Linked DNA regions of Homo sapiens: all the other regions are linked to region 7. The links are contacts of gene promoters, found by promoter capture Hi-C in blood cells and fetal thymus (Javierre and others, 2016). All regions are on one chromosome and are shown on one strand. Each heading gives the region's core, a stretch centred on a gene start or on the middle of the fragment in contact. The rest is flanking DNA. Distances are from core to core; before and after follow the strand shown.

Region 1 (3,371 bases), core at 28-2,527, 770 kb after region 7:
TAAAGGTGGGGGAGGGAAGATTAATTATTGTTGAGTGTTAACTAACTGCCAGGTGCTTTTATCTTGTTTGTCTAATTTAAATTTTATATGGACTTAATAAAGTAGATATTACCATGCACATTTTACAGGTTGCCAAACTGTGGCTGTGGGAGGTTCTAAGCAACTGTTCCAGGTCACTTGTACAGTAAGCTGTATAGCAAAAAATCCAATTTGGTTCGGTTCCAAATACTGGACATACTCAACTTCGGATTTTTAATGTTAAAAAGGTATTTAGCGCTTTAATTAAAAACAACAAAAAACCCCTGCAAGATGCACAAATAAAATGTAAGGCCATCTCTGGTTTGTCAGGAGGTAGCTTTTATTAACCTTGATTGCTAATAAGTAGTTAAGAGTCAGAGAGACCTGGGTTGAGGTCTTAGCTCCTACACTTAACTGTGTCTCCGGGCCTCAGTTTCTTCATCTGCAAAAATGAAATGACACCATTTACCTTCTAGGGTTGTTGTTGTAAAGACAAAATGAGACAGCTTAACATTAAGACCATACAGTGCCTGGCACATAGTGACCACTCAATAAATGGCAGTTGCTATTATTTACGACAGGAATAATCTAGGTATGTTGCACACCGCTGAATGTCATTATGGAAGTCTTCCACAAAATGCCCCCTGGTATCAAAGGTAGAATGCTGCGTCAAATTTACCATAGATCAGATGCGCTACGACGCCCCCGCCCCCCTTAATCCCTTTCCATGTCGCAGCAAAATAATGGGCGATTGGGGGTAGGGGAGCAACACTAGTTTACTAGCCGACACTAGTAAAAAAAGGGGAAAAAAGACCCGAATAACAAGGACCTGCAAAGGTCCTACATCACCACGTTCCCACAGCCTTTATCCATCCATCTTTCATCCCCAAGAAGACAGTATGCAAGGCTAGGATGGGGGTGGGGTAGATAAATGGGTGTTCTCAGGAGAACCTATTCGTTTACCCCGTGCAACTCTCCACCCCAGGGATGAGGCGATCTGAATGCAACAGGGAGAGGGACCAGGTGACACGCACGCAGTGCCGGGACATTAGTCAAAAAGCGAGGACCTGGGGACTGAGGGGTGGGTGGCTGGGCGGGGGGAGAAAGGGGAGAAGGAAAGAGACCAGCACACCCCCCATACATACGCAAATTGAGAGAATCAGTCCGGCTCTGGACACAAACCAGTGAAGGCAGGCCGGAGAACCTGAAGCTCTCAGAGGGGAGCAGGTGTCACCGCAGGCAAGTCCAGCCGAAGTCTGCGTTCCGCAGCCCACAGAACGACAACTTACCCAGAGCCGCCTAGAGCTGGTTTGCAGCACGCCAATCTACGTAACCTCAATCTAGCACGAGCAACAGGCAGATTTCGCCATCTTTGTTGTGGTCAAGGAGTCTTCTTGGGTTCCTGGGTTCTTTAGTCTCGAAATATATAAGACTTTTCGTTCTTCGCTAGTCTTCTGAGCTCGAGATGAAGCACAGAAGGCTAAAACAATGAGGGACAGCGTTCCAGTAGCCCTGCCACAGCTCTCTCATCCTCTGGTCCGCCCTCACTCAAGATGGCTACCAGCAAGAATGGTGCAATGGCGTGACAGCTCGGCCCTGGTTGCCAAGGAGATGCGAGTACCGGAAATGCGGAATTCGGGGAGAGCGCGCATGCCTGGTCCGGTGGAGGGAGGGTGCCGGGCGTCACAGGTCCTGACAGGGAAGAAGTTGGCAGGTCCTGGCAGGGGACGAGCTGCGGCGGTGGCACCTCCGGGTGTGGAAGGCTCCAGTGAGATGGAGTCGCGAGTCGCGGACGCTGGGACCGGCGAGACCGCGCGAGCAGCGGGCGGGAGTCCGGCAGTTGGCTGCACCACTCGGGGGCCCGTAGTCTCGGCGCCCCTGGGAGCCGCCCGGTGGAAGCTCCTGCGGCAGGTAAGGGAGAACCTGCTCGCCTCACCTTTGCCTCTGGTCACTCCTCTCTCACGTACCGGGGGAGCGACTGTTCGCAGTTCTTTCCTCTTGGCAGCTCTGGGAGACCCTTCTCAGTTTGCCGGGAGCCACCTGCGAAGCTCCCCCTCGCTTCACCTAAGCGTCCCATCCAAGAGGAGGAATCATGTGGGGTTGGGTGGGGAGCGGGACAGCCAAGGCTGAGCTCCTGGGAAACTCAGATCGAAGTAGAAGAACCCCTTCTAGACATTTTTGTGCGTCTGGGGGACTTTTCCCCTTCTCGCCAGTCTCTGGTGCGCCCGCCGCTCCCCACTGCTCTTTTCCTGCTTCTGTTTTGCCTCCTTCCCCAGTTTCTTCTAGCTTAACTCCCAGCCTGGTTCGAGTTACCGATATTCGTCTGCACCCTCTGGCCCCGTCTTTTGCCCAGCGTGGTTGACTATGCCGGGACTGAGACACGGCATGCGTTCCCTCGGCATCTTCCGTACAGCGGAGCGTGCAAGGAGTAGGAAAAGCTGATACCCTCTCTCACTGAGGTCTCAAAGTTAAATGATTATCTTGTAGTTTGTAGTGATCAGCGAGATTCTCCGTGTCCAAGGTGGGCTAGTCAAAGTGTGTTCGTTTTTGAATGATGGTATCTTCTGGTACTTCAAAGTTTCTGCTGTTACTTACAACTCCACTCGTGCAAGCTTGACGGAAGTTCTGATTTATGATCACTCACATTCTTCGCTCACTTCTTGAAGTGAAGTCTGGTTATTGTTTTTGCATAGCAGTGTTATGCCTCTGCCTGAAGTTTTCTGCCGAAAACTTTACTCAGGAGGACATTTTTCCATTTCTGACAGTTGTGTTTGGAAAAGAGTTTCCCAGCTATTGCCACTTTACTTGAGATTGTGCTTTTAGTATTTTGGGGATCACTTTGTTTGCAGTTGCCTTGAGTCACCTTTTCATACAGTGGTCTTTTAGTGCTTTTAGAGTTATGAGTTAAGTAGATCATCAGAGTTAATTAAGATTTATTTGCTGATACATTGACAGTCTTTCCAGACCAGTAATGATCTGGTTTTGCTATTGTTACAAATGGTATTACAGGATAAGAAAATGCATGTCCTCACAGATCATCATAGGAAGTATCTATAATAAAGTAAATATCTAATTTTTTTTAATAGTGACCACTGAAATGAGATCTGGCGTGAGCTGGGGAGAGTGGACTCAACCCCCCTTCCCCCCTCCTTTTTTTTTGAAATGGAGTTTCCCTCTTGTTGCCCAGGCTGGACTGCAATGGCTGCCATCTCCGCTCACCACAACCTCCGCCTCTAGGGTTCAAATGATTCTCCTTCCTCAGTCTCCCCAGTAGCTGGGATTACAGGCATGCACCACCACGCCTGGCTAATTTTTTTTTTTTTTAAGTAGAGACGGGGTTTCTCCATGTTTGT
Region 2 (3,672 bases), core at 856-3,355, 850 kb before region 7:
TAAAATTGCCCACCTTGTCACCCATTATATTCGTCTTTTTCTATAGATTCTTTAGCGTATTTATAGTAAATATTTTAAGTCCATACCTGCTAATTCTAACATCTGAATTATCCATTAATCTAGGGACTGTTTTTTCTTTTGATTACGGGTTGCATTTTCTTGTTTCTCACTGCGCCCAGCCAGTCCAATCATATTTAAATGCATACTGGGTCAGTGTGAATGATGAGTTATAAAGACTCAGGATTCTGTTATTTTCCTTTGCAGAGTGGTAAGTTTTGTTCTAGCAAGGAGTTACATTGGTGGATCACTTCGATTCTGTGGAGGCTTGGTTTGAAGCTTTATTAAGCCTCACATATTTCAATTTTGCCCTTAGTCCGATGGGATTTCAATGGAAAGACCAAGTTGTTTACCAGGCCCCTTTAACTTCACAGAACTTGAACTCCAAATTCTGTCTTCTCAGCACTGGACAGCTCTTGAAGTCACTGCTCGGCTCCTTGAGCCTTCTAGCTGATGTTTTCCATCGGGCTCCTGGGAATCTCACCCTGTACTTGCATAGTTCAGAAATAAGCAAGTAATGTGAGGGGAGTTTGTATGTAGATTTGAGGGCTCCCCCTTCTGTGTCTCCTTCCTCTGCAGGATCTCCTCCCTCAGTTTCCAGCTGCATTGGCTGCCTCAAGCTCTGACCTCTGGTTCCTCAGCCTAGTAGACTGTAGCTTTCTGCCTGAGCTATATTCATCTCATACTGCATGAATGTGCTCATGGGGAAAGACACTTAAGAGTGGCTCTCACTTTGTCTCACTTTTTCTTACTTTGTCTCTCTTTTTTCTAGGTTCATAACCCCTCCAATTTTTACCTGATTTTGGTTGCTCTCTAGTACTTTCAAACAGTTGTTCTTTTTTAAAAAAATTATTTTATTGTATTTTTGAGACAGAGTCTTGCTCTGTCACCCGTGCTGGAGTGCAGTGGCATGATCTCGGCTCACTGCAACCTCCGCCTCCTGGGTTCAAGCAGTTCTCCTGCCTCAGCCTCCCAAGTAGCTGGAATTTCGGGTGGCCACCACCATGCCTGGCTAATTTTTGTAGTTTTAGGAGAGACAGGGTTTTGTCGTGTTGGCCAGGCTGGTCTTGAACTCCTGACCTCAAGTGATCCTCCCACCTCAGCCTCCCAAAGTGCTGGGATTACAGGCGTGAGTCACCACACCTGGCCTCAAACAGTTGTTCTTTATATTTCGTCCAGAGTTTATCACTGTTACTGGCTGGAGGGTTAGTCAAATTAGCCTACCACGATAGGAAGCAGAGCTCCTCAGTCCTTCTATGTGCTTCCCCTCCTGTTTCTCTCAGTTAAGAAAAAACAACATACTATGTATGTTTCATAGATACTGTATTTTTTCTTCCCTGAGGATATTAATGATAGTGGCTTTTTATTTTTATTTTATTTATTTATTTTTTTGAGACGGAGTCTCACTCTGTCGCCAGGCTGGAGTGCAGTGGCACAATCTCGGCTCACTGCAACCTCCGCCTCCTGGGTTCAAGCGATTCTCCTGCCTCAGCCTCCTGAGTAGCTGGGATACAGGTGCGCCCCATAACACCTGGCTAATTTTTGTATTTTTAGTAGAGACGGGGTTTCACTCTGTTGGCCAGGCTGGTCTTGATCTCTTGAACTTGTGATCCACCTGCCTTTGCCTCCCAAAGTGCTGGAATTACAGGTGTGAGCCACCACGCCTGGCCATGTTTTTTGTTGTTTAAGTATTCTTCTCTGTTTCTTCTCTCTGTTTCTTCCAATTTGTACTCTTCTGTTGATTATGTGTTATTTGGTCTCTAACACCTGCTGTTAGAGGGTCTTTGTTTTTTTTTTCCCTGGTGACCTTTGTTGTCAAACAATGTTTAAAAGTAGGAGACTAAAAATCAGAGTGAAAGCTCTGTGCTTGTTCTTGGCAGAACCTGTAGTGCAGTTCACTGTAGGGTGATCAGGTTGGCCTGGTGTTTGGACGATAAATGCCAGTTTCTTTCGATATTTTCTCATGGGCTTGTCAGATTCCCCAGAGAAGTTTCTTCCTATCTGTTCCCCAGAGGATAAATGTTTGTTACCTGCATTCTGAGAGCTTCATGGGAAGAAGGCTGGGGGCTCACCATTCAGTAGACATAGGTTCACTTGATCTCTCTCTGTTATAATTGTAGCCTTGTCCTTAGCTGTGCATGGTGCCTCGTGTCCCCTAGGCCTGAAACGGTTTTGTCCTCGTCAGAGAATAAATATCTCGACTGGTGGGACGTAGACAGTTGCCTGGTGGTATGGAGTTGGGAGAGCTTCTTGGGATCCAGCTGCTTCTCAAAGAGCCTTTAACTCCTCTTCCTTGCTTCAGTCCCCTCCCCTACTTCCAGAGGTACCTGGTGTCATTTCATGAGCCTTTGGGGTTCTCTAGACAAATTGGGTACTCAGCTTTCCACACTGAACCTTCAAGTCTGTCTGTCTTGAGTGCATAGTCTGTTATCACTCATTTATCTGCTTTCCAGCTTCTAAAATTCTGTGGTTTCTTCTCTGATTTTCAGAAGGAAAGGAAACTAACTCAGAAGCCACCAGCTAGCTGGCTGGATTGCTTTCATTGGATTGGTTGATTTAAGTGCAGAATCTCCAAGTCCATGGACTTCAAGTACTTCTGAGTAGTCAAACCATTAGGGAAAATTTTGCAAAAAACAAACAAACAAAAAAATAAGTGCCTGTCAGTCAGGGCGAGTACGTACCAAAGTGGCAAATATAGGTTAATACATTTGAGAATAAATAAACAAAAAGAGAAATGATTTGGGCTACATCATGGTCTAGGAAGGAGACTGAGAATTGATGTAGACATTTTCCTGGGGCTCTCTGCCTGTGCTACTGTGCTGAGTCTCTGTATCTGGCTCTTGTTCCTGCTCCAAGGAAATGCAGAGGATCTGGGGAAGCTCTGAGCAGAGGAGAGTGAAGTGATAACCTTGTAAGGGCAGGTGGTAAGTACTGGGATTCTTCAGCCCAGAATACAGAGAGGTGGCCTGTCTCAATTGAAAACCGTGGCCAGGGTGGAGAAGGCAGAGTGGAGCCTGGGCACCAGAACCTGAGATGCTAGGAGGAGAGGGTTGTTTCTGAAACCGCAGCAGGCAAGTTTGGCACAAATAAAAGCACAATTTACCATGGCAGGCTAGAAACTTGGGAAACTATTAAAAGCAGCTCTTTTGATAGGTGGTTTAATTCCATAAGGGTTTAGACAGATGAATGACAGAGCTCCTGCTCCACTAAATACAAAAAGAGAGAGTGGCTCCTAGGAGACGCTGACACTTACATAACCTTCCATTTAGACACTGAGGAGGTCAGGATGCTCTTACTGGGCTGTTAGCAGAACACTGGGCTGGATGGAGAATGAGCAGCTTGGTGTAGTAGGAAAAACTTGACACAAATTAAGGTCTACATTCAAATCTTGACTCCTCAGCTTACTTACTGTGACCTTGAGCAAGTTCTTAACCTTTCTGACACTCCCAAGATTCTGCTGAAGGTTAAATAAGGTAGTTACATAACCTACAGTATGTTCAATAAAGCAAGGTTAGCATGATTCCTAAACTGAATTTATCTGGGCCTTTATTTAACACATACTTGCTGAGCTCATATCAAATACCAAGCTGGGTACAGGTATCTTCCCTATCCTAG
Region 3 (3,501 bases), core at 39-2,538, 700 kb before region 7:
ACTGCAGCCTCCACCTCCCGGGTTCAAGAGATTCTCCAGCCTCCGCCTCCTGAGTAGCTGGGACTACAGGCGTGCAACACCACGCCTGGCTAATTTTTTTATTTTTAGTAGAGACGGGGTTTCACCATGTTGGCCAGGCTGGTTTTGAACTCCTGGCCTCAAGTGATCCACCTACCTCGGCCTCCCAAAGTACTGGGATTATAGGCGTGAGCCACCACGCCTGCGCAGGGCCCCAGTTTTTAGTGTTCATGCTAATAGCTATTACTGGTTACCATTGATCAAATGCAGAGTGTATCAGGCATTCTGCTAAGTGACTAAGTGCTGATTTTATTTATACTGCCTGAAAACATTACCAGTTAGGTATTATGAAAACCTGCTCTAATACACCAGGAGAGTGAAGCTTAGTCATTCATGAGTCACTCAATTTAGCAGCAGTTTCTGGGCTAGGTCCTGACTGGCTGAAGTCAATCAGCATGTTGATTGGCTTAGAGACAGGCAGATGGCCTAATTTTGGCCAGTGAGGGAGAACAAATCACAAGTCCTGTAAGGGAGACGTTGGAAAAGGAACTACATCTTCCTGGATGGTGTGATGTGAGGATGGTAGGTTTGGAGCTGCTGAAGCCATTTTTCTTTCACTGGTGAAGCATCTGGGCTGTTGCAGGGAGGGGTAGCATGGGACCACGTGAAGCCAACATCATGAATCTTTGGAAACATAGTTTTGGCAGGTGGACTGAGTTAAACTAGATGAGTGAATACATTGCTTTGATTGTTTGAGCTGGGTTGAGTTGGGCTTTTGAAACTTGCAAGTCAAAGACCCACACACGAATCAGAGACTGTAGCCCCTGTCCTGGAGGAACCACACCTGCCCAGTAGGTCTGGCCCACAAGAGGTAGCCCTGGAGTGCACTCACCTGGGAAGTCGGGAGACTGTTGAAAGCAGGTGCAACAGTCACCACTTGTCCTGATGGCTGCTGCTGATCAGGGCATGTCTGTGGACAACTGCCTGCTCTGCCAGCCTGATTGTGGCCTGATCTGTCACCTCTGCTTCTCAAGCCACACTTTGCCTGATCACCCATGGTACAGACACCCTCCTCCATCCTGCTTGGCCTAGTTAGGGTGCCTGGATCCAGCCCAGGCCTGGCTTAGCCCTCTATGTGGGTTAGGATTAGGTTTGACTGCAAGAAGTTTGACAGTGACTTAAACAAGAGAGAAGGCTATTCCTTTCCCACATGACAGTTCTAGAGGTAGTAGGATTCGGGCTGGTGCAGTAACTCAGCTCCACAGAATGCTCATTTGTACCTTTACTCTTTCTAGATCAATCAGCACTGCCAGCAATTTGTCTATTTTATCAGTCTTTTCAAGAGCCATGTTTTGGTTTTGTTGGTACTCGCTAAGCCCATTTTCTATTTCATTGATCTCTGTCCTTGTCTTTATTATTTCTTTTATCCAACTTTATTTAGGTTTGCTTTGTTGCTCCCTCCTCCCTAAATTCTTGAGCTGGACACTTAACCCTCTACTCGTTTTCTTACATGTGTCATAAATGAAGACTGCAATTTTCCCTCTAACATCTCTGGAACTGCATCAAGAAATTTAGAAATGTTGCTATTTTCATTATTGCTCAGTTCTAAATATTTTCTCATTTCTTAAATGTTTTGAACCAGTAAGTCTTCCTCTCTCTCTCTCTCTTTGATACAGGGTCTTATTCTGTTGCCCAAACGGTAGTGCAATGGCAAAACATCAGCTCGCTGCAACATCCACCTCCCAGGCTTAAGTGATCCTCCCACCTCAGCTTCCTGAGTAGCTGGGACTATAGGTGCATGTCACCATGCCTGGCTAGTTTTTCTATTTTTCATAGAGATGGGGTTTCGCCATGTTGCCCTGGCTGGTCTCGAGCTTCTGGGCTCAAGTGATCTGCCCACCTCAGCCTCCCAAAGTGCTAGGATTACGGGTGTGAGCCACCGCACCCAGCCAAGTCTTCCACTCTTTGCCAAGGGTTTCCCTGGGGATATCTTACTTCCTGCACCATCATCCTTATAAGTTTTTCACCAGTCTCTTGTTTGCCCCATCTGTTGTCACTATCTCAGGCATCTGTGATGCTAAATAGTTGCTGCTTATTGTTTTCTACAAATACCCTGAGGATAGGATTTTTTTCCTCGGTACCTGGACTATAAGACCAGTAAGCTTACAGGTTGTCCGTGTACCAGAGGTAGGTCCCCCCAGGCCCCGACTCTGCCGTCCACCTGGAGTATAGTCCTGCCTTTATGTGAATATCTTAACTTTAGCCATTTGCTCTCTGGTTATCAGGGCCAGTAACTCCCTGCCCCCACCAGTCTCTACAACATCACTCACCACAGTTAAAATTTTGATTTTTAGTTACTTCTTTGTTTTTTCCTCCAGATTAATTCTGTTTACTTTCTTGAAAGCTCAGCTTCGCATTTAAAAAGATGTAATATTTTACTCAGTATTTCTAGAAGAATGAAAGACCTCATTTTCTTAATGAATGAATTTATTTCAAACATACAGAGAAATAAAGAATCATGTAACAAAAGCCCATCTGCCTACTTCTTAGCTTTAAGAATGTTTACATTTAATCACATTTAATTTAAAAAATTGAAAGGAAGTAATGGTATATCTGAGGTCCCCTTTATGCCCCTTCCTTATCTCATACCCCTCCTTCTGTCTCCAAAGGTGATCAATATTCTGAAATGAGTGGGTATCTTTTTCCCCTATGTACGGATGCATTTTCCACATAAGGAGTATGTCAATTCATGAGTTTAAAATTTACATAATGCCATCTTTGTAAATATTCTTCTGCATTTTTTTAATTGTTGACCAAAATGGTTATCTAGGTTTTTCCATGTAGATACATCGAGCTCTAGTACGTTCACTTCAACCTAGGTATAATGTTTCATTGTATGAAAATATCTCAATTTATTCATCCTTTCATCTATTAGTGGATATTTGGATTATTTCTAATTTTTTGACACTACCTAGAAAGCTGCACTGTCTTTGTGCATATTTCCTTGAGTTCACCTGCAAAAGTTTCTACCATATAGAAGTGTAACTGCTGGATGGTAGAATGCACATCTACAACCACAGGTGATCTCCCTCATAGAGTCTCTTGTGGTTCTCTGGCTGGAAGTAATATTCTCTTGCCCCACTGTGGAGTGCTGTTTATTTCTATTCCGTTGCATTACCTTCACTTTGCCTTGTGCCATGGTTTGTATGCATGTCCCCTCTCACCAACTGAAATCCACAAGATTCAATTTTCCTGGAGGACATGTTCATTAGAGCATCCCCCATGGGGGCACATACACAGTAGTCACTGGATAAGTATCACTGTTTAAAAACCTGTACCAGGTCGAAGTTCACCAGGGAGGCTTCAACTTTCCATCTTTCTCCCTTGAGTATTTAAACTCAGCTAAGTTCCTCAAATATTTTTGAGCAAGTCTGGAGATGAGTATCATGAGATGGGTTTGGGTTGGGATCAAGGTTGTCTCCA
Region 4 (3,397 bases), core at 366-2,865, 750 kb before region 7:
GAGAAAAGAGAGGAGGGGCTGGGAAGGCTGCTGGCTGCAGGTCCTGGAGGCCTTGCTGTCTGTCAGCATGAGGCTGGCCTTGACCCAGTGTCCTTGGAGCCTAGAGATGTGTATGGGTCACACCTGGGGCCATGATATACCTGGTGGGCTGGGGCCTTTCCTATGAGGCTCAACCTCCTCTGTCTCTCCCTCTCTCCCTTTCCCTCCATGTGTCTTTCCCCTTCTCTCCCTCCTGTGCTCTCTTTCTCCCCAGCCTAAATGAGGTCCGTTAGACAAACCTTGACACACCAGACTCTGAACACCATAAGTCTGATCATGTTCCCTTTTTTTTTTTTTTTCAAGATAGGTTCTTGCTCTGTCACCCAGGCTGGAGTGCAGTGGTGTGATCATAGCTCACTGCAGCCTTGAACTTGCTGGCTCAAGCAATCCTCCAGCCTTGACCTCCTAAGTAGCTGGGACTACAGGCACACACCACCATGCCTGGCTAATTTCTTATTTTTTTGTAGCAATGGGGGTCTTGAACTCCTGGCCTCAAGTGATCCTCATACCTCGGCCTCCCAAAGTGCTAGGATTATAGATGTGAGCCACCGCACCTGGCCTCAATCATGTTTTTAAGAATGTTTGTTGACATGAAACTACCCGTGATATATTGTAGAGAGAGGAGAGCAGCTCACCAGACATTAGAGACAGGGCGAGCTCAGTTTTCTAACTAGCTCTTGCCCCTGCTCCCCAAAAAAAGACAATGTAAATCATACAACACAGATTCATAAAATATATATATATATATATATATATATATATATATATCTCACATGTATAATAGTGTCCTCTTCCTTTCAATTTTGCCCTTTGGGGTCTAGGCCCAAGTCCCTGGGTCAAAGCCCTCTGAAGACTCAAGGATGGCAGATCCAGCCCAAAGCAGAAATACATTTCAAAGGCTGGCCTGTTCCTCCTCCTCGCCCACTATGGCGTTTGTCACTTCCTCCCCTGGGAGTATCTGGGGCCCCAGCCTTGGGAAAAGATGAAGCCAGAATTGTTGGATCAAAGTCCCAGCACATAATAAAGGCATCTCCCAGCCCCACCTAAGGACATGATCATGTGTGTTTGCTCACACAAACAGCCGTGGGCTGGCCCACCAGAAACCATCTCTTGTTACAAAGCCAGAATCTTTTCCATCTGTGTTTAAGCTGCAGCCCATGAAATAATGTCCATAAAAGTAAGATTGGAAGTGAACATAGTGAACGCAATAAATTATGGCTACACTGTGTTCTCTCCGGAGGGACGCCCTGGCAAAAGAGCCTTCAATATTTCTTTTTTCTTTTTTTTTCCTCTTTTTTTTTTAAATTATACTTTAAGTTTTAGGGTACATGTGTACAACGTGTAGGTTTGTTACATATGTATACATGTGCCATGTTGGTGTGCTGCACCCATTAACTCATCGTTTACATTAGGTATATCTCCTAATGCTATCCCTCCCCGCTCCCCCCACCCAAGCCTTCAATATTTCTATCTAGCACTGTGTTGTGTGTTTCCTCAGAAAGCATTCCATTTGTGGATGGGAAGAAAGGGCCTAGACGGCTGAGGTTGATCCAGTAGAGCTGTGGTGCTTGGCTGGCTGTCCATGCCTGGCATCTTAATGTCTTTTCCAAAGCAGAGTTGTTCAACTGCAAAGTGTAGCCAGGGGGAGATTGTCTAGGGGAAGATTTGTTGGCCAGTTTCCATTACTACCACCATCTTCCTTCTTGCAGTTCAACCCCACCGCCACATCCCACCACGACCACAGGCATGGATCCAGACACCACCACCAACATCCTCTGCTGATTCCACGTACCTACCATTGCCCAGGCCGTGAAGAAGCGTTTGGGAGGAAGGGAAACCTGAAAGAGTCACAGGACCACAGACCTGAGGGTTTAGAATCTCAAGGGGGGTATAGGCCAGATAAACAAATAAATACAGATAACTTAGAACAAGAAGGAAAGTCATCAGTTAGGTACTGAAAAGTTCTCCCCAAGTTCAAAAGAGGGAGGATGAGTCTTGCTGGAGAAAGTGGCTTTTGAATGGAACTTGGAAGGGTGGCTTGGATCTGGACCTGGAGGAAGAAAAGGCCTTCTCAGAAAAGGGATTGATTAAGGGAAAGCATGAAATTGTAACACATGGGTGAGGATGGAATTCATGGAATTCCTGCACCCTCAGGTACATGAGGAGCAGTGAGGGAAATCAGGCTGGAGGATGGGTGGGATGGGCTGGGGAATGTAATGGGTAAAAGAAAGAGCCATTCAGTCTAGGGATTTGGGTCTTTCATGGGGGAAAGGGGAGGATCAGCTGACAGTTACTGAGCTGAAAGTGGACAGAGCTGGTTCAGGAGCTAATCATTGTAGTGGGATCTTGGGGCCAGGGAACATTCCCCTTTCTACACTCTCTTCCCTAAAAAGATTGGTTCAAAAATCCCACAGAACTCTTGAGTGTTAGCCATTTGCTTTAAATCCTACCATGTCATACCTTGTCCTTTAGGATTATGCATTTGTGATAGAGGAGGGCATGGGAGAATGAAACACGTGTGGCCGTTTCTCTATTACTCAGACCTCAGGGCAAACAAGTACATCGGAACTTTTCTGAAGGGTGGGCTTTGCTTGGGAGAGGTGGAGTGTGAGGGTGCCAGGGCACTTGTTGGGTTGGCGGGCACCCCAGGAAAAAAATGTAGCAAGGACACAATTGTGGGCATGCCCCACTTTTTTTTTGAGATAGGGTCTCGCTGTCACCCAGGCTGGAGTGCAGTGCTCTCAGTGTCACCCAGGCTGTGCAGTGTCACCCAGGCTGGAGTGCAGTGCATGGCTCACTGCAGCCTCCACCTCCTGGGCTCAAGCGATCCTCCCACCTCGGCCTCTGAAAGTGCTGGGATTATAGGAGTGAGCCACCGCACCCGGCCTGCTTTGCCCTTCTTTGAGAGATCAGCTGGATGTGGCTCTGAAGTGTTCAACTCAGAGGAGAGAACTCCAGGACTCAGGGCAAAGGCATCTTCAGGAGCTGATGGGAAGCCCAGGCCCCCTCGTGCCTGAATGGGTGGACAGGGCTGGAACCACCTTTCATGGCTTTTGTCCTGGGTGCTGAGGGTGATGCTGTGCTCACCCCACTTTCCTATGATTCTGATGGGAACCCCTGGGCTGCATCAAAGAGGCATTTCCAAGTTCTTTGCAAAACTTTTCTTGACTTTATTTGACAGCCCAGCCCCCAGTGCAGTGACATTTCCTCTTCTTTCTCTCTGGGCCGGGTGAATGTGAGTTCTCTGTAGTGGGGGAGAAACGGACCAGTTGTCCCATCGGGGCTTAGCATCGACTCTCTTTCTCTGGCAGATGTTTAGGATTTAGAACTTGGATCTCTCCCTTCACCCCACCGAGCA
Region 5 (3,425 bases), core at 823-3,322, 630 kb before region 7:
TCGTTTTCCTCTGTTTTGGCTTCAGGCATCCCTTGCAACAGTGCTGATCTCTGTAAAGTGAATCCTGTGTTCCTGTTGCCATGCATTTTGAGACCTCAGATGTGTTCCCATAGCTTTGGGAAGGGGCATATGAGCCCCCAGGGGAGCTGAAGGCTGCGTAGAGGAACAGACCCTATGCATGGATGAGGCGGAATACTGCGAATATCACTGTGCCACTTCCAGAACTTTCCAGGGTTCCTCAGGGCTATCCTTCCTGAAACCCTTTTCTCAGCCCCACACAACTCCTCTTAGGCTGGGGATGTCTTGCCATCACTCTCACTACAGGGCCAGAGTGGGACCCTATGCCCCAGGGTCTGAATTTCTGGGTGGAGCCCCTGGTAAATTCAGCACTACTTTGCAGGGAGCTGGGACTCAATGTCTCTGGCCTCCTGCTTGGTTCTTCCCGGTTCGCATCTCTGGCTCTCTTTGGCTCTTTTCTCTCCAGGTCAGCCAGCAGGCCCTCCTCCCTACCCCGTCCCCTCCCTCTCTCCCCACATCTTGGCTCCACGCTCTGTTTTCCTTTAGGACTTGCTTTCAAAGAGCACCAAGTTGGCCACTAGCGTCTCTGGCCTGGCCCACCTTAAAGCCTGACCCTGACTCATGGTCCTGGTCCCGACAGGACGTGGTTCACACCGGTTTAGAAAACTCTGGACGGCAAAGTCACAAACCATCTGCACCCTCTTCTTCCGCCCCAGACGTTATTTATGTGTGTGGCTTTGTGTTCGTTGCTAAATGCGGCCTGTGTGAAGGCTGTTAATTAACCCTTTGAGAAATGCGCTTCCCATCGGGGCAGGGACAGGAACAAGGAGCATGCTTCTAATCACCGAAGATTTATCCTGCTTCAGACGAGGCGTTTAATGAAGGCAGGGGAAGGGGCTGGAGGAGATGCCCTTCGAAGCGGTTTAAAGAAAGCCCGTTTTGTGCACGCAGATTGTCAGAAGGGCAGGAAATTCTAAATCAACTGTGCTCCTGGGCCTCAGTGAGGGGACAGGGGGTGCATACAGGGAGGGGGAGGGGGCCTGTGGGGTCGGGGGAGGTCTAGGGGCACAGGCCGGCTATCAGGAAGCAGGGCCAGGCAGCTCTCCTGGGATGAGCTGTGTAGTCACTCAACTCTTTGGCCGTCTGTAAAATGGGACCGCGTCTCGCCTGCCTCCTCCCTCCAGGGCATCCATGGAGGGGACTGTAGAACAGAGTTGGAGGAGCCGCTTATAATACAAACAGTCATCAAAGAGTGACCATGCTGTGGGTGCCTTGGGAGGTGGGTGGGGGTGACAAAGTGAAAAGAGGGACTTTCTTTCCCAGTGAGGGAGGGTGAGCTCTGGGGTCAGGGTGTTCATAAGCTTTCCAGGGGGCCCTCTAGTTCCTCACCTGTAAAGTGAGAGGCATTCTGGAATCTTCACAGCTGGCTGTAGGATTATGGGTTTCCTGACACTGAAAACAACCTTTCTTCCGAAAAAGGAGAAATTCAGTTTTGGGTTTCACTCCCCCTTGGTTTCCCAGCCCAAGGCGCATCACGGTTCCCACCCTTCCCAGATGCACTGAGGGTGGTACTGGCTGGAGGGGTTGGGGGAGGAGGGCAAGCGGGAAGTCCCAGGACATCCCAGCTGGGCGTGGGGGCTGAGGGACGGAGTGGGCCACAGAAGCCCGCTGATATTTATAACTGCGACTCTTTACATTCTGTATAAAGGCATGCCTAAAAAGCACCATTGAGGGAGGGCTCAGACGCCTGCCCGCACGCAGCCAAGCTTCCTGTCAAAGCCGAATGAGCTCAGAAAACAAAAAAATGTATTCACAGCTCTGAGTCTTCCCCGCTTCCCAGGCTTATTTCGTTTGAAAATACTCAGAGTTGGAGGGAGAAAAGGTAGAGGAAACAGAGTCCAGCCTGACTCCCTAGGGACCATGTATCTGCTGCAAGGTTGTGTAATCTCTCAGAGCCACACATTTGCCGACTTGTAAGGTGGTTGTGAGGAGGAGGTGAGAAGATAGGTAGGAAGAACAAGGTCAGCAGGAGATGCACGAGCGGGCTCCCACTCCATCCCCCTCTTCCCTCCTCCCTCCCTGTCCTCCATCCCTCGCTTCCACCCCTTTCTTTCCTCTCCCCCAACCAGTCTCTCCTGAGGTCTGCCATATCACCCTCTCTGCTGCATCCCTAAGATGCCCAGATAAAACCAACCTAATATCTTTCAATGATCTGCCCCAGACAGGCCCACACAATAATGAACCCTATGATGGACAGAACCCAGATATCCCTATTTCGGCCTGCCGCATAGACAGTGGAAGTGTGCGTGTTTCAAGTTTGTACTTAGTTGGCTGTGCCTTAGCAAGCTTCCAGGGATTCCCATGCAAGCTGAAGTTTGAGGACCATTGTACTGTAACATGCAAATGCTCCTGAAGCCTTCAGGGAATTCATCCAGAGGTGAGGATTGGGGAGGGCTGATGTTTCCCATTTGGAAGTAGCTCCTGGGGAGCCCTTTGCTAGGAAGAGCACCTGCTTCTGGCCACTTCCTCCCTCTCTGAAGCTTCCCCCAGTGCCTCTTCCCAGGGACCCAGGAAGCCTGCTTTCCACTCCAGGAGTCAGGATGGAAGCTGCCTCTGGGGTGTCCACACCTGTACTGGGTGTCAGGCTCCTGGCTCCCCTCATGGCGAGTCCACCTCATCCGTGGTGAGGTGGGGAGAGGAGTGAGAGGATGTCTCCAGTGTTTCTCAATCACAGCCCCCTGCCCCAGCTCCCCACCCCAGGAGAGTAAAGCTACTAGTGTCCCTGGCACCTGGTCTTTCCTAGCCAGGGCATGCGTCTCGGTAGAACTTTCTGTATTGACGGAGATGTTCTGTATCCGTGCTATTCAATACAGTGGCCATGAGCCACCTGTCGCTACCTACTGAGTACTTGAAATGTGACTGGAGGCCAGGCTCAGTGGCTCACACGTGTAATCCCCGCACTTTGGGAGGCCAAGGGGAGTGGATCACTTGAGGTCAGGAGTTCAAGACCAGCCTGGCCAACATGGTGAAACCCAGTCTCTACTAAAAATACCAAAAAAATTAGCCAGGTGTGGCAGCATGTGCCTGTAATCCCAGCTACTCAGGAGGCTGAGGTGGGAAAATCGCTTGAACCCGGGAGGCAGACGTTGCAATGAGCCGAGATTGTGCCACTGCACTCCAGCCTGGGTGACAGAGCAAGACTCCATCTAAAAAAAAAAAAAAAAAAAAAAAAAAGTGACTGGAGTGACTGAGGAACTGAAATATGAATTTTCTTTCCTTTAAATTCCTTTAAATTTAAATGGCTATGAGAGGCTTGAGGCCACCATATTGGACAGTGAAGTTCTAGGAGCTCCTTCGATGCCTTGGCCTCTGAGGCCTTCCTTCCCGACATCCTTGGCATCTGCTCC
Region 6 (3,635 bases), core at 980-3,479, 800 kb before region 7:
GAAGCCGCAAGGAACTTGACTGGGGAAGAGTGTGCACAGGAGAGCTGGGTGCAGAGGCTCTGAGATTAGAAGCACTGGGGGTGAGCTTGGGGAACGATTGAGAAGGCTGGTCCAGGAGGGTGGACCAGCCATGGAGTCTGGTCTTGGCCTAAGGGGTGCTGGGGAACCTGGAAAGTTTGTTTTTTTTTTTTTTTTTTCAGATAGAGTCTTGCTTGCCACCCAGGCTGGAATGCAGTGGCACAACTTCGGCTCAGTGCAGCCTCCACCTCCCGGGTTCAAGCAATTCTCCTGCCTCGGCCTCCTGAGTAGCTGGGACTACAGGCGCGTGCCACCACGCCCAGGTAATTTTTGTATTTTTAGCAGAGACGGGGTTTCACCATGTTGGCCAGTCTGGTCTTGAACTCCTGACCCCAAATGATCCACCCACCTCAGCCTCCCAAAGTGCTGGGATTACAGGCATGAGCCACTGCGCCCGGCTTGAAAGTTGTTTTTTAAAATCAACTTCACTGAGATGTAATTTAGGTACATACAGACAATTCTTAAACAACTCCACTCAAGAATTCTTTCAACCCATCAGTCAGAATGCATAAACCAGACCTGCCCCTCCTCTGCCCAGAACTCTTCAGCAGCTTCTCACCTTGCTTGCTTCAGCAGCTTCTCACCTTGCTGAATAGTAACCCCTCCTGTAAAATTTATATGTTGAAGTCCTAACGCCCAGTACTGCAGAATGTGACCTTATTTGGAATAGGGTCCTTGAGATGTAGTTAGGTTAGGATGAGGTCATCCTGGAGTAGGGTGAGCCCCTGATCCAATATGTCTGGTGTTCTTTTAAAAGAGGGAAATTTGGACACAGACACACACACAAGGAGACTGCCTTGTGAAGACGAAGGTGGAGGTGGGCGTGGTACAGCAGAAGCAAGAATACCAATGATGCCAGCAAACCACCAAATGCTAGGGAGAGGCCCGGGCAGATGGACGCGAGACCTCAGGGGGAGCGAAGGGAGGACTGAGAAGGAGCGACTGCAGATGGGGATGAAGTGTTGGAAGGAGGCAAAGATGATGCTACATCTTTAATTGGGGGTGGGCAACAACAGTGATAGAAGAGATCTTTGGGGAGATATTGACTGTTGGCCATGTGGTATTGCATGGTAACCAAGAGTGTGCGTGGACTCTGGAGTCGAACTGCTCCGTGGGTTGAGTCTGGAGCCTATCGCACAGGCGCTCCGTGACACTAGAAAAGTTACTTATGAAAATCCCCCCTCACGGTGCTACTGTGAGAATGAGATGAGATGATGTAAAAACACTTGGCATAGTCCTGGGCCTGCTGTTTGCCTTGAGGTGCCACCCTACTGACCATGTCCTGTGGACACAGCAAAAATGGGGAATGTAAACCTTGATCTAGCTGGCATGTGGGGCCCCGCCATGGAACTGGGGGGATGAGGGAGGTGACCATACCACAGGGGAGGGCCTGAGAGGTCTGCCTGAGAAAGATGGCAGCTGGATGGCCAACCCTGTTGGGTGCTGCAGGCAGAGGCTACTGGCAGAGGTGGCCTAGGGAGGGTCTGGTGTGGTGTGTGTGTGTGTGTGTTCGTGCACACCTGCATAGAGGGGCCCTGAAAAAAGCAAGACATCAAGATCTTCCCAAAGGAGCGGATTCTCTGCCTCCCCCTTTGCCTGTGGCTTCTGGGACAGGGTTGGGGTGTATGATTTGGCTGCCCCCAGGCCTACATTCTAGTGCATTTCTGCCTTGAAAACCACCCTCCCCACACTTTTGAGTTTTCCCAAAATGCACAGTGTCACTTGGGGTTGGAGAATTGTTTCTCAGCCCTGGAAGGAGAGGTGCACCCTGTCATGTCATCTCCTACAGCCTGAGAACCAGCTCAGCCTTCTTCAGAAGTCAAGGCCACAGTCACAAGAAAGAGGAACAGACCGATGTGGTGGAACCGGAACAGCCTGTCTCCATCTTCCCCCAAGAACCAAGAGATTAAAGCGGTCCTTCTGCAAGCTTCTGGGTCCAGGAACTCGGAGCTGGAAGGTGAGGGCGCAGATGGAGGAGGGGGAGGAGGCGAGGGCAGGGGGCGGCCATGGGGGTGCTGGACTCACATGAGCTTGTTGCAGACCGGGGGCTGGAAGGAGCCCCGGTTCTCCTTCACCCAGGCCCTCACTCCCAGGCGGCGCTCCATGACTGTCCCGGGCGCCTCCTCGCAGCGCTGTCCTCCCGCCGTCGGAGGCCCGCAGCTCCGCCCAGCCGCCTTTTTAACCAGAATCCCAAGCTCACGAGGCGGAGCAAACCCCCGCGACCCCGTGGTGGGGGCTTGGGGCCCGCGGACTTTGCCCCCTGGTGGACTTTGGTCTGAGCCCGCCGCCCTCCGCGCCACTCCAGGCCCTGGCGAGCGCGGCGGCGGCAGCGCTGGGGAACGGCGTCCCGCGCCCTCTGCTTCTCCGCGGGGCAGGGGCTCGGTCCCCGCCACCGTCTCCGGGGCGCCCCACACACTGGCGCCTGCGGTGGGGCCTGCTCCCGGCGGAGGACAAAGAATCCAGACCCTTCCTGGACGCTTGTCCCCAGACGTTCCTTCCCTCTACGCCCCGAGGGGAATCCCAGGGAAGGTTCCCAGAAATACTACAGTGAGGAGATCGCGGGTTGGAAGTCCCAGCACCTGAGAACACGGTGCTGGCGCTGGGCTCAAGATTTGGCTTTCCCATCTGGAAAAGGGGAATGACTGCCCCGCCACTCAGGGCTGCGGCGCTCACCCAGCGGGAAGCCGCACGGCGGTCCCCGCAGGTCCCGATTCAAGGTGAGCCCCAGACCTGCTGCGTGCGGCCGGCAGACTCCGCCGCGGGCTCGGCGAGGGGAGCGGTGCAGGCGCCGAGCTGCGGAGCCCGGGCTCAGGGCAGGACCGCGAGCCCTCCCCACCTGAGGCCCAGCCGAGCGGCCGCTGTCCGCGCAGTGTCGCAGTGGACCCCGAGCCCCGTGCTGAACTCCTTAGGCGTCTTAGGAACATACTCAGTTCGCACGCAGCTATGGGAGGAATTTGGCAGATGTGGACACCGGCCTCAGTGTCCTAGCCCTCGGGAATCTCGGGGTGTTAATGATGACAGCCCCGTGTGAGAGACTCTAACAGTTATCCTGGGGGTGAGGGGCTGGGGCGCTGGGCCTGGGCGTGCATGTGTGAGGAAAGAGAAATCTGCGCGGGTGTGGAAGATGGAGAAGCCTGTCTTTCTGCAGGACTCAGAACTTTCTTAGGAAGTTTGGAGGGAGTGGGAGCTGACGGGTAGGGGAGGAGGAAAATGGCTCAGGCCCCTGACACCGGAATCCAGACTATAGAGTTTAAGAAACTAAACGCCTCTAAATCCTGCCCTCACAGCCCGCCTGGCCTGGGCTGGTTTTCTCAGCATTCCAGACATAAAGACTCCTCTAGTACAACTCAAAATCAAAACCCAGACGACAGGAAGCCGAATTCCCCACTGAGACCCTCCCGTTTCCTCTCTGACGCTCTTTTTTTTTTTTTCATTTTTCTCTCTCCTTTTTTTTAGTTATTTATCTAGCACAGTTTTAGCTGAGCACTTCTAGTGCAAAACTAGAATATCGTTTTGCACCCAAGTAACTCACACCACCTTCTTTATTTTTCTCATCT
Region 7 (3,614 bases), core at 1,106-3,605:
GAGTGCAGTGGCGCGATCTGCGCTCACTGCAAGCTCAGCCTCCTGGGTTCAGGCCATTCTCCTGCCTCAGCCTCCCGAGTAGCTGGGACTACAGGCGCCCGCCACCACGCCCGGCTAATTTTTTCTATTTTTAGTAGAGACGGGGTTTCATCATGTTAGCCAGGATGGTCTCGATCTCCTGACCTCGTGATCCACCCACCTCGGCCCCCCAAAGTGCTGGGATTACAGGCGTGAGCCACCGCGCCCAGCCTTAGACTTCTTGTCTTGCTATTAGATTAGTAAAAGTCAGTACAAGCTACAGGGAAACAGATTCCAGATCAATACAAAGGAAAAGCTCTATGGTCCCACTAAGGACTGGGCTACCTTTTAAACAAAGAAATTTTCCAACACCAGGAATATTCAAAGAGAAGATGACTGAATATTTTCTCTTGGACTCCTGAAACAGCTCCCTAACTGGTCTCCTGACTTCTACACTTACCTCCAAAGAGCCCATTCTGTTTACAATCATCAAAGCAATCTCTTTAAAAAAAACTCTCATCAAATTGAATTACTTACTCTCTTCCTTAAAACTTTCCAAGGGTTTCTAAATACACTTAGAATAAAATTCAAACTTGAGGCCAGGAGTGGGGGCTCGTGCCTGTAATCCCAGCACTTTGGGAGGCCGAGGCGGGTGGATCTCCTGAAGTCAGGAGTTCAAGACCAGCCTGGCCAACATGGTGAAACCCCGTCTGCACTAACTAAAAATACAAAAATTAGCCGGGTGTGGTGGCAGGCGCCTATAACCCCAGCTACTCCGGAGGCTGAGGCAGGAGAATGGCTTGAACCCAGGAGGCAGAGGTTGCAGTGAGCCGAGATCGTGCCACTGCACTCCAGCCTGGGAGACAAGAGCGAAACTCCATCTCAAATAAATAAATAAATAAATAAATAAATAAATACTTGAGATTTTGCCCTTCAAGGCCCTAAATAATCTGACCCTGCCTTCCTCCACTCTTCATCTCAAACCAATCTCCTCTTCACCATCTCAAGAGCTTTGTACTTCCTGATGCTCTTATTCCCACCTAAGAGGCTTTACACTTCTCAGTATCTCTGCCCCTTAATGTTCATTCCACATCTTTGCAAGACTGACTCCTTCTCACCATTCATGTTTCTGCTGCAACATTACCTTCTAAAAGCCTTCCATGACCACTCTATCTAAAATCTCACCAATACAACACACGTAGACACCATTTCCGTTAATTTTCTTCATAGCACTTACTAGTACCAGAAATTACCCTAACTTGTAAATTTGTATATTGTCTGTCTCACCTAGTAGCAAACTGAATGAAGGCAGCAACTTTAATCTATTTTGTTCATGTTTCAAGTCTCAATTTCCAAACCAGTGCCTGGCACATAGTAGGTGTTTAACAAACACTTCACGAATAAACAAATTAATTAACAAACATTTGTCAGAGATGTTCTAGAAGGGATATATGTCTTTAAGGGCAGGAAGGTGGACTATCTGGTACCTAAAATGCATTCTACATCTAAGTGACATTCTACATCTTAAGAACCTATGGTCTGTTTGGGAAGTAAGAAATCCATACAGTAATGGCAGGTGAGCAACCACTTAACCAAAAATGGACGCAGCTAGGAAAGTGTCGACAACAGAATAATTTGTAAAGGGATAGTCAGATCTAGAGGAATAGAGGCACGCTTCCTAAGAAAGTGACCATCGTACAAAGCCAGAAGAGACTGGGAAACCTAACTAGGGAGACTATTCTCTGGTGAAAGGTAAGCAAGTTTGCAGGAGGATTTGCTCTTGCAATTCTGAGGGCTACACAAAAGCAGACTCGGTAATTATGCCTGCTCAAATGATGCCTAAACGTGTGTCCTGAAGAACCAGGGTCCCCAAGGGGGTAAATCCCGTGTCTACCGCAAGGCCAGAAGGTGCCCAGTAAATTACACTCCTCCTAGGTCCCACTTACTGCTTCCCTTTAGAACGCTGCTTCACTCTACACCTTCCTGGCTGACTCCCACAAACATTCTCTGGGCGATTTCTGAACCACGTGGAGTCGAGGAATGACAGTGGGAGAAAGTGGTTAAAGTGCTGTCTCCATGGAGACCTTAGCGACCGGAAATCAGTTTCACAGCCGCCGAATCCTGGCGATACCAAAGGATGGGAATTGGTGTGGCTCGCCAGGCAGCCCTAGCAAAACTGGCCGAGCCGAGCTACCGCGGGTCTGGCAGGCAGGACACCTGGGAGCCAAACCTCGTGCACGTCGGCGTCTGAGAAGAGTCGCAGGCGCCTGGTCCAGTCCCGGAAGCAGGTCTCCTTCTACGGCGTCTCCGAGGCTCGCAGCGCGGTCCACGGTCGACTACCGGGTCAGGGCAAAGGGAGGGAGAGAGGGGTAACCTGGAGGAGTCATCGCGAGAATTGACCAAACGCAGCTCCTCCAATCAGGAGTTCGAGGAGGTCGTGACGTCACCGGGGTGGCCGGTAGCAATCCGGTTTAGTTAACCAGCCACTGTACCGTCAGCGCCGCGCGTTCCTCATGGCGTTAGGGCTGACGGGCCTTGTTGCTGAGGGGCCTTCATTCAACGGTCTCTTGTTGAATGAAAAGACCTCATTCTCTTCACATGCTTGGACGCCTGGGAAGCGCTTTTCTCCCAATCCAGACCTTCCACCTTTCTCCCACTCTGTTGGCCCAGTGCAGAGTCTAGGAGAAAACTACGTCTGGGACTCGGGAACGAGTCCAGGGAGTTTAGAGCCTGCGAGATGGGGCAGGGGTTTGGGCGGCGACTGAACGGAAGCCACGAGAAGGATTCGGACTAAAATGAGTAGTGCTGAACCAACGTGTGCCAAAGCGCATATATTCATTCAATAGATAATGAACTCTACTGTCAGAGCGTCGCCAAGCGCTAGCCTTGAAAGCTATCCCCTACTGAGGATACATGTATTACGCAGCACATACAAATTGTCAGATGGTTCAGTCCTTGAAAAATAAATACAATAACGGGGTGTCACTGGGAGCTGCGACAGTGGGCAAGATCAGGAAAGACCTGATGCTATTATCAGGAGTATTAATTTGGAAAATAGAGACATTTCAGTTCTCTAAACGTTAATGACTTAAGTTTTTAATAATTATTTTCTGAATTTTTTATATCAGCTTGCCTTGGTTTTCTTTATAGCTTTACCACATAATGTATGTATCACTATCTTGTTTCGTTCAATTTTGAAGCTTTTGGAATTGCGTATGTATTCTCCAGCAATTTGCTTCTTTCAGCATTGCTTTTCATATTCACCTACAGGTGGCTGTAGTGCTCTTCGCCCAGGCTGGAGTGCAGTGGCGCGATCTCGGCTCACTGCAAACTCTGCCTCCCGGGTTCAAGTGATTCTCCTGCCTCAGCCTCCTAAGTAACCGGGATTACAGGCGCGCGCCACCACGCTCAGCTAATTTTTGTATTTTTTAGTGGAGACGGGGTTTCACCATGTTGCTCATGCTGGTCTTGAACTCCTGACCTCGTGATTCGCCCGCCTCGGTCTCCAAAAGTGCTGGGATTACAGGCGTGAGCCATGGCGCCCGGACCGTAATTTTCCATTGTTTAATATACTTCATTATGTATCCATCCTGCTG

What was found. The method cuts DNA at HindIII sites, captures the fragments that hold promoters and counts their contacts. A CHiCAGO score of 5 or more calls a contact.
Region 1: a contact is called between the fragment with the promoter of PREPL here and the fragment with the promoter of THADA in region 7, in 5 of 17 cell types (activated CD4 T cells, total CD8 T cells, naive CD8 T cells and 2 more). The highest score is 9.5, in activated CD4 T cells.
Region 2: a fragment that was not itself captured here is called in contact with the fragment with the promoter of THADA in region 7 in 1 of 17 cell types (monocytes); the score reaches 6.0 in monocytes.
Region 3: a contact is called between a fragment that was not itself captured here and the fragment with the promoter of THADA in region 7, in 1 of 17 cell types (erythroblasts). The highest score is 5.3, in erythroblasts.
Region 4: a contact is called between a fragment that was not itself captured here and the fragment with the promoter of THADA in region 7, in 2 of 17 cell types (M0 macrophages and M1 macrophages). The highest score is 6.0, in M0 macrophages.
Region 5: a fragment that was not itself captured here is called in contact with the fragment with the promoter of THADA in region 7 in 2 of 17 cell types (total CD8 T cells and M0 macrophages); the score reaches 6.7 in total CD8 T cells.
Region 6: a contact is called between the fragment with the promoter of HAAO here and the fragment with the promoter of THADA in region 7, in 7 of 17 cell types (naive B cells, total B cells, monocytes and 4 more). The highest score is 13.1, in naive B cells.

The regions. Positions count from the first base shown.
Region 1 is chr2:44,360,217-44,363,587 of GRCh38, forward strand. It overlaps PREPL (prolyl endopeptidase like), which reads right to left and starts at 1,278. Exons shown (of 14, transcript NM_001171613.2): 1 at 1,164-1,278. CAMKMT (calmodulin-lysine N-methyltransferase) reads left to right here and starts at 1,731. Exons shown (of 11, transcript NM_024766.5): 1 at 1,731-1,929. The coding sequence starts at 1,792. RefSeq lists enhancers at 650-1,544, 921-2,120, 1,357-1,826, 1,545-2,438. The HindIII fragment of the contact is 3,162 bases long and covers 1-2,628 here.
Region 2 is chr2:42,748,562-42,752,233 of GRCh38, forward strand. All of the region lies in intron 16 of MTA3 (metastasis associated 1 family member 3), which reads left to right. Among named protein-coding and RNA genes, the nearest start is that of OXER1, 14 kb to the right of the region's middle. The HindIII fragment of the contact is 3,542 bases long and covers 335-3,672 here.
Region 3 is chr2:42,896,595-42,900,095 of GRCh38, forward strand. No RefSeq gene overlaps it. Among named protein-coding and RNA genes, the nearest start is that of TRI-TAT2-1, 88 kb to the left of the region's middle. The HindIII fragment of the contact is 1,780 bases long and covers 399-2,178 here.
Region 4 is chr2:42,841,603-42,844,999 of GRCh38, forward strand. No RefSeq gene overlaps it. Among named protein-coding and RNA genes, the nearest start is that of TRI-TAT2-1, 33 kb to the left of the region's middle. The HindIII fragment of the contact is 7,163 bases long and covers 1-3,397 here.
Region 5 is chr2:42,960,937-42,964,361 of GRCh38, forward strand. The region is part of intron 2 of LOC112268413 (a long non-coding RNA gene); the gene reads left to right. Among named protein-coding and RNA genes, the nearest start is that of LINC01819, 77 kb to the right of the region's middle. The HindIII fragment of the contact is 580 bases long and covers 1,783-2,362 here.
Region 6 is chr2:42,790,354-42,793,988 of GRCh38, forward strand. HAAO (3-hydroxyanthranilate 3,4-dioxygenase) reads right to left here and starts at 2,230. Exons shown (of 10, transcript NM_012205.3): 1 at 2,104-2,230. The coding sequence starts at 2,183. RefSeq lists silencers at 2,077-2,516, 2,697-2,796, 2,877-2,966. The HindIII fragment of the contact is 4,290 bases long and covers 2,004-3,635 here.
Region 7 is chr2:43,593,683-43,597,296 of GRCh38, forward strand. It overlaps THADA (THADA armadillo repeat containing), which reads right to left and starts at 2,356. Exons shown (of 38, transcript NM_022065.5): 1 at 2,249-2,356. The HindIII fragment of the contact is 4,194 bases long and covers 1-3,216 here.